Linked DNA regions of Homo sapiens: region 1 is linked to region 2. Evidence: promoter capture Hi-C in human tissues and cell types (Jung and others, 2019). All regions are on one chromosome and are shown on one strand. The core of a region is centred on a gene start or on the middle of the fragment in contact, and the rest is flanking DNA. Distances in the headings are between cores, read along the strand shown. Region 1 overlaps ESCO1 (establishment of sister chromatid cohesion N-acetyltransferase 1). Region 2 holds the start of SNRPD1 (small nuclear ribonucleoprotein D1 polypeptide).

Region 1 (3,821 bases), core at 38-2,537, 48 kb after region 2:
AAAATTAGTTTTTGTTTTTTTACTGAAAATTAGTTTTTGTTTTTTTACTGAAAATTAGTAATTTTCTTTCCCCCTTTATTTTTATTATTATTATTTTTTGAGACGGAGTCTCGCTCTGTCGCCAGGCTGGAGTGCAGTGGCGTGATTTCGGCTCACCGCAACCTCCGCCTCCCAGGTTCAAGCAATTCTCCTGCCTCAGCCTCCTGAGTAGCTAGGACTACAGGCACACGCTGCCACACCTGGCTAATTTTTATTTTATTTATTTATTTTTATTTTAGTAGAAACGGGGTTTCACCGTGTTGCCCAGGCTGGTCGCGATCTCCTGAGCTCAGGCAATCTGCCTGCCTTGGCCTCTCAAAGTGCTGGGATTTTATAGGCATGAGCCACCATGCCAGGCCTGCTCCTTGATTTTTAAAAGGTTTTTCTCCCTCTCTTGAAGCTGAAATTTATCAGCGTTGTGTAGAAAATAAGTTATTTTTGCCGGGCGCGGTGGCTCACGCCTGTAATCCCAGCACTTTGGGAGGCTGAGGCAGGCGGATCACGAGGTCAGGAGATCGAGACCATCCTGGCTAACATGGTGAAACCCCGTCTCTACTAAAAATACAAAAAAAAAAAATTAGCTGGGCGTGGTGGCTGGCACCTGTAGTCCCAGCTACTCAGGAGGCTGAGGCAGGAGAATGGCATGAACCCAGGAGGCAAAGTTTGCAGTGAGCCAAGATTGCGCCACTGCACTCCAGCCTGGGCGACAGAGTGAGACTTCGTCTCAAAAAAAAAAAGAAAATAAGTTATTTTTTCCCCTTCAAATGATGTGAAATGACTTGGATCTGTAACATTTAGTAATTTTATTTTTTTTAAGGGAGACACCACGAAATCATTCTTTGCCTAAGTGTAATTCCCATTTGGAGATAACAATTCCAAAGGACTTGAAACTAAAAGAAGCAGAGAAAACTGATGAAAAACAGTTGATTATAGTAAGTACACAACTTGACCATTTTGGTGAATTGTTGTTAGAACCATCTTAGTATATTTCATGTTGCTATAATACGATATCTGAGGTTGGTAATTTTTATAGAAAAGAGGTTTATTTGGCTTGTGGTTCTATGGCCTGACATCTGCATCTGGTGAGGGTGGCAGATTGCTTCAACTTATGGAGGAAAGCAGAAAGGGAGTGAGCTCATGTGCAGAGAGACCACGTGGTAAGGGAGGAAGCAAGAGAGAGAAACCAAGGAAGCCAGACTCTTTTTTTTTTTTTTTAACCCTGCTCACCCCAGCAGGAGGGCATTTGAGGGCATTAACCTATTTGTGCGGGATTCACCTCTAAGACGCAAACATATCTCACTAAGCCCCACCTCCAAACACTGTCACATTGGACATCAAATTTCCCCATAAATTTTGGTGGAGACAAATCAAATCATATCAAAATCATAGCAGCATTGTATTTATGCAAGGTTTTAAAGAATAAATTCATTCACTTTTGCCAAAGAGCCTTTTTGTCATAATAAATTTTAGTATGAAAAATGTTCCCAGGCCAGGTGCAGTGGCTCATGCCTATAATCCCAGCACTTTGGGAGGCCAAGGTGGGTGGATCACCTGAGGTCGGGAGTTTGAGACCAGCCTGGCCAGCATGGTGAAATCCTGTCTCTACTAAAAATGCAAAAATTAGCCAGGCGTGGTGGCAGATGCCTGTAATCCCAGCTACTTAGGAATCTGAGGCAGGAGAGTCGCATGAACCTGGCAGGCAGAGGTTGCAGTGAGCTGAGATGGTGCCATTGCACTCCAGCCTGGGCAACAGAGCGAGACTCTGTCTCAGAAAAATATTCCTGGTGTTATTACAACCCCCTTCTTAAATAGTGACTTTGTCTTGTAACAGTAATTGTTTTCATACTTCTAGTTTTATAACAAATTGTGATACTTTATTTCACATCTGTTACTTTCTTAGATTTGTCATTTGATCACTACCTCCTTTCAGTAGTTGATTTAAATGTTAAAATAACATGGAACTTGTCCAGGTGCAGTGGCTCACGCCTGTAATTCCAGCACTTTGGGAGGCCGAAATGGGCGGATCACCTGAGGGTGGGAGTTCAAGACCAGCCTGACCAACACCGAGAAAGCCCATCTCTACTAAAAATACAAAATTAGCTGGGCGTGGTGATTCGTTCCTATAATCCCAGCTGCTCGGGAGGCTAAAACAGGAGAATCCCTTGAACTCGGAAGGTGGAGGTTTCGGTGAGCTGAGATCATGCCATTGCACTCCAGCCTGGACAACAAGAGCGATACTCCATCTCAAAAAAAAAAAAAATAATAACATGGAACTTAATGTATAAAATGATTTTGAATATCTATATTGCAGAATACATTATTATTTTAAAGTTACATTTTAAATTACAGGAAGATAAATTGGAAAACAGGAGATATTTTGATTGATTAAAAATCTAACTTGAATGAGTGAATATAAAAAAATTAAGGCACCCAAAGTACTAGGAACATTTATGTAGTTACAGTCAACATAATCAGTAGGATTTTTTTTTTTTTAAGATAGGGTCTCATGCTGTCACCCAGGCTAGAGTGCAATGGTGTGATCACAGCTCACTTGCAGCCTCAACCTCCCAGCCTCAAGTGATCCTCTCACCTCAGCCTGCTGAATAGCTGGGACTAACAGACATGCGTCACCACACACAGCTAATTGTTAATTTTTTTTTTTTTTTTGTAAGACGGAGTCACCCAGGCTGGAGTGCAGTGGCACAATCTTGGCTCACTGCAACCTCTGCTTCCCAGGTTCAAGTGATTCTCCTGCCTCAGCCTCCCTAGTAGCTGGGTTTACAGGCACGCACCACCGTGCCTGGCTATTTGTTGTATTTTTAGTAGAGATGGGGTTTCACCATGTTGGCTAGGCTGGTCTTGAACTCCTGACCTCGTGATCCAGAGTGCTGGGATTACAAGCGTGAGCCACCTCAGGTGGCCCCCCAGACTTTTAAGACATTAAAAAATGGAATGGATTGGGTGCGGTGGCTCATGCCTGTAATCCTAGCACTTTGGGAGGCCGAGGCAGGTGGATCACCTGATGTCAGGAGTTTGAGACCAGCCTGGCCAACATGGCAAAACCCGGTCTCTATTAAAAGATATAAAAATTAGCTGGGCATGTTGGTGGGTGCCTGTAATCCCGTCTACTCAGGAGGCTGAGGCAGGAGAATCGCTTGAACCCAGGAGTGGGAGGTTGCAGTGAGCCAAGATGGCGCCACTGCACTCCAGCCTCGGTGACAGAGCAAGACTCTGTCTCAAATTAAATATAAAAATAAAAAAGAGTCTACCTGGGTGCAGTGGCTCACACCTGTAATCCTAGCACTTTAGGAGGCCGAGGCAGGAGGATCGCTTGAGCTCAGTTCTAGACCAGCCTGGGCAACATGGTAAAATTCTCTCTCTGCAAAAAATATAAAAATTAGCCAGGTGGCGAGGCGTGGTGGCTCATGCCTGTAATCCTAGCACTTTAGGAGGCCAAGGCAGGTGGATCACCTGAGGTCAGGAGTTCAAGACCAACCTGGTCAACATGGTGAAACCCCATCTTTACTAAAAATACAAAGAATTAGTCCAGTGCAATGGCACGCTCTTGTAATCCCAGCTACTTGGGAGGCTGAGGCAGGAGAATTGCTTGAACCTGGGAGGCAGAGGTTGCAGGAGCCAAGATCATGCCACTGCACTCCAGCCTGGGTGACAGAGCGGGACCTTGTCTCAAAACAAAAACAAACAAAAATTAGCCAGACATGGTGGCACATCCCTGTAGTCCCAGCCTGGGTGACACAGTGAGACCGTGAGACCCTGTATCA
Region 2 (3,865 bases), core at 406-2,905:
ATGACTTCCTATCCAAAGTTATAGTTCAAATAAAAATATACCAAAAATTAACCTTAAATGTCTTTTGTACCAACTCCTCCCTGAATATAATTTTTTTTTTTTTTTTTTTTTTTTGAGATGGAGTCTCGCTCTGTCGCCCAGGCTGGAGCGTAGTGCCACGATATCGGCTCACTGCAACCTCTGCCGCCTGGGTTCAAGCGATTCTCCTGCCTCAGCCTCCTGAGTAGCTGGGATTAAAGGCGCGCGCCACCACGCCCCACTAACTTTTGTAATTTTCGTAGAGACGGGGTTTCACCATGTTGGTCAGGCTGGTCTCGAACTCCTGACCTAGTGATCCACCCGCCTTGGCCTCCCAAAGTGCTGGGATTACAGACGTGAGCCACTGCGCCTGGCCTCCTCCCTGAGTGTTGAAGGCTTTTATGTGTTATTTAAAACGTTTCAAACAAACGTTACTTCAGACGTTATCTACTTGTCTGTCATCCCCACTAACCAGAAAACTCCAACAAGGCAGGTACTCTGCCTTTTAAAAAATCCTATTACCAGCGCCTAGTATGTAACAGGTGCCCAATAACTATTTAGCGGATATTGACAATCCTTGACTCAACAGGAAAAAAACAAGCTAAATATTTATAATTGCTGGCTTAGCTATTAGAAACGTCTGCCTCTGTTCCAGGCTTAGTCTCAAGGAAAAACACCAAAACCAAATCTACTTGCAGGTAGTTTAGAATTATTCACATCAGCAAACAAGTTTTCAGAAGACTCACCTAACTGACAGGGTCTATTTATTTCTTAAGAAATAAAACAGGAGAACTATATATTATCTGAGTAATCAGCCACAATTACGTTGTGATAATTTCTGCCCTATATTGGGAGATTTTCCTAAATAAAAAGCCTACCTTAAAGGGAAATAGAGGTGGAATAATCAATCACAAATCTAAGGAGGATAAAAAGGTAAACTTAAAAATCGGCCGGGCACGGTGGCTCAAACCTGTAATCTCAGCCCTTTGGAAGGGCGAGGCGGGCAGAAAGCTTGAGCCCAGGAGTTCGAGACCAGCCTGGTCAACAAAGTGAGACACCATCTTTATTTAAAAAAACAAAAACTTGTGAAGCCGGAAGTCCTTCTCTGATTTAAAATATTTTGCAAACAGGTTTGTTTCCAGATAAGCTCATACAGCTTTCTAAGTACTGTTAAGCAGGACTGGGGAGTTCCACTCAAAAAGAAAATGAGTAACTGTAAGAGGGAGATGTGTCCCAGGAGGCGCTGCATCTTTAAAGCCTCTAAGTCACTAGGCAGGAAGAAAAGGCTCGGCCTTTATACCAATCTCTTGGAAGACACGCGGGATCCGCGAGCGACCCAGGCGGAAGCCCAGGCCCGAGCACGAGCTGCGGGCGCAGTAAGGCCGGCCGTTAGCAGGCCGCGCACACGCGGCTTTCCCGCCTCCTGCAAATGGGAGAGCCCAGCCTTCCGGACTCCGGGCCAAGCCCTCCCTTCACAGCCCCCAGAGCTGCTTGGTCACTCCCTCACCTCACGAGCTTCATCCTAGCGGCGCCGTCACCCTCTGGGTCCGACAGCACACAGAATCCTTCAACCGAACACTGACCGACTGCAGTATGAATGGCCGGAAGCGCCTACTCCAGGGGCTCCGGACGTCAAGAGCGCGCGGAGCACTGCAGGCGCATGGCGGAAACGCCGAGGCTGCGCTGGGCCGCACTCTCTTCCGGCCGCGAGGAGCGCGACTGCGGCCCCTGGCGGCTGGAGGTTGCCTTGCGACGGCTGAGGGTATCGAGGGCTGGTCTTGGAGAAAAATGTCCTACAAGAGAGGGAGATTCGAAGAGATTAAATCCAATTAATAGGACTGTCGCATTTTGGGAGGCCGAAGCGGGGGTATCACCTGAGGTCAGGAGTTCAAGACCAGCCTGGCCAACAGGGTGAAACCCCCGTCTCTACTAAAAAGACAAAAAATTAGCTGGGCGTGGTGGCGGGCGCATGTAATCCCAGCTACTCGGAAGGCTGAGGCAGGGGAATCGCTTGAACCCGGGAGGCGGAGGCTGCAGTGAGCGGAGATCGCACCACTACACTCCTGCCTGGGCAACAAGAACGAAACTCCGTCTCCCAAAAAAAAAAAAAAAAAAAAAAAGTACTGTCACCATCACGTTTCTGAACAGCAGGGCACTGTGAGTGCAGCACCTAATACAAATTCCTCACTGAACGGAAAGAAGGTCTTAGAGAAGCCCAAAGTCTTATGCTGATTCTGTTCCAACACCAGGAACCTAGCATTGCTTACTGTACCTGAAGCAAATCACACAATGGGCCAGGCGCTGTGGCTCAAGCCTGTAATTCCAGCACTTTGGGAGGCCGAGGCGGGCAGATAGCGAGGTCAAGAGATCGAGACCATTCTGGCCAACATGGTGAAACCCCGCCTCTACTAAAAATACAAAAATTAGCGGGGCGTGGTGATGCGCGCCTGTAGTCCCAGCTATTCGGGAGGCTGAGGCAGGAGAATCGCTTGAACCCAGGAGGTGGAGGTTGCAGTGAGCTGAGATCGTGCCACTGCACTCCAGCCTGGCAACAGAGCGAGACTCCGTCTCAAAAAATAATAATAATAAAAATAAAATCCACAATGTAGCAGATTATTTTCACTTTAAGTTCCAATCTATAAGACAAACTTTTCAGTCTTCATCTTTCTCAACATCTCATCAAAATATATATATTTTTTATTTTTTTGAGATGGAGTCTCACTCTGTCGCCCAGGCCGGAGTGCAGTAGCGCGATCTCAGCTCACTGCAACCCTTGCCTCCCGGTTTCAAGCCATTCTCGTGCCTCAGCCTCTCCAGTAACTGAGATTACAGGCGCGCATCACCATGGCCCGCTAATTATCGTCTTTTTATGTATGTATGTATGTACGTACGTATGTATGTATTTTGAGACAGAGTCTCCCTCTGTCGCCCAGGCTGTAGTGCAGTGGCGCGATCTCGGCTCACTGCAAGCTCCGCCTTCCGGGTTCACGCTATTCTCCTGCCTCGGCCTCCCAAGTAGCTGGGACTACAGGCGCCAGCCACCACGCCCGGCTAATTTTTTTGTATTTTTAGTAGAGACGGGGTTAGCCAGGATGGTTTCGATCTCCTGACCTCGTGATCCGCCCGCCTCGGCCTCCCAAAGTGCTGGGATTATAGGCGTGAGCCACCGCGCCCGGCATTATTGTCTCTTTAGTATGTGAGCTTCATCAAAATTTAACACAAACACTCCCCTTCCCTCTTTCGGGTTTCAGGATGCCAAGCTCACCTGGCCTTTTTCCTTATCCTACTAACTACTCTTGCTTTGTTTTGTTTTGTTTATAGACAGGGTTTCTCGCTCTGTTGCCCAGGCAGGAGTGCAATGGCACAATCAGGGCTCACTGCAGCCTTGACCGTCTGGGCTCAAGCTATCCTCCTGCCTCAGCCTTCTCAGTAGCTGGGACCACAAGTGCGTGCCACCATGCCCAGCTAATATTTTATTTTTTATTTCGTAGAGAAGAGGTCTTACTATGTTGCCCAGGCTAGTATCCAACTCCTGGGCTCAAGAGATTCCACTGCCGTGGCCTCCCAAAGTACTGGGTTTACAGGCCCAGAGCCTCCATGCCCAGCCTCTAACTACTCTTTCTAAATCTCCTTAGCTGGTTCCTCCTTCCCTATGGAGCCAATACATGTCACAGTGTTTCCCGGCTTGTGGCTGTAGTCTTTTTATGTATACTTTTTCTTTTAACCTGGTAATCTCCTCCAAAACCATGACTTTGATTTGTATCTCTAGCCTAGACTTCATCGCTGATCAACAGAACTCTTAGATATTGTAAGACAATACTTATCGGCTGGGCATGGTGGCTCATGC

The links. Contacts are between HindIII fragments. The study calls those that stand out against the background at their distance.
Region 1: a fragment that was not itself captured here is called in contact with the fragment with the promoter of SNRPD1 in region 2 in 1 of the 25 tissues and cell types used here (dorsolateral prefrontal cortex).

Annotation. Positions count from the first base shown.
Region 1 is chr18:21,561,353-21,565,173 of GRCh38, reverse strand. It overlaps ESCO1 (establishment of sister chromatid cohesion N-acetyltransferase 1), which reads left to right. Exons shown (of 12, transcript NM_052911.3): 7 at 857-971. Among named protein-coding and RNA genes, the nearest start is that of ESCO1, 37 kb to the left of the region's middle. The HindIII fragment of the contact is 5,082 bases long and covers 1-3,821 here.
Region 2 is chr18:21,610,104-21,613,968 of GRCh38, reverse strand. SNRPD1 (small nuclear ribonucleoprotein D1 polypeptide) reads right to left here and starts at 1,655. Exons shown (of 4, transcript NM_006938.4): 1 at 1,526-1,655. The coding sequence starts at 1,539. RefSeq lists an enhancer at 1,507-1,596 and a silencer at 1,857-1,906. The HindIII fragment of the contact is 13,798 bases long and covers 1-3,865 here.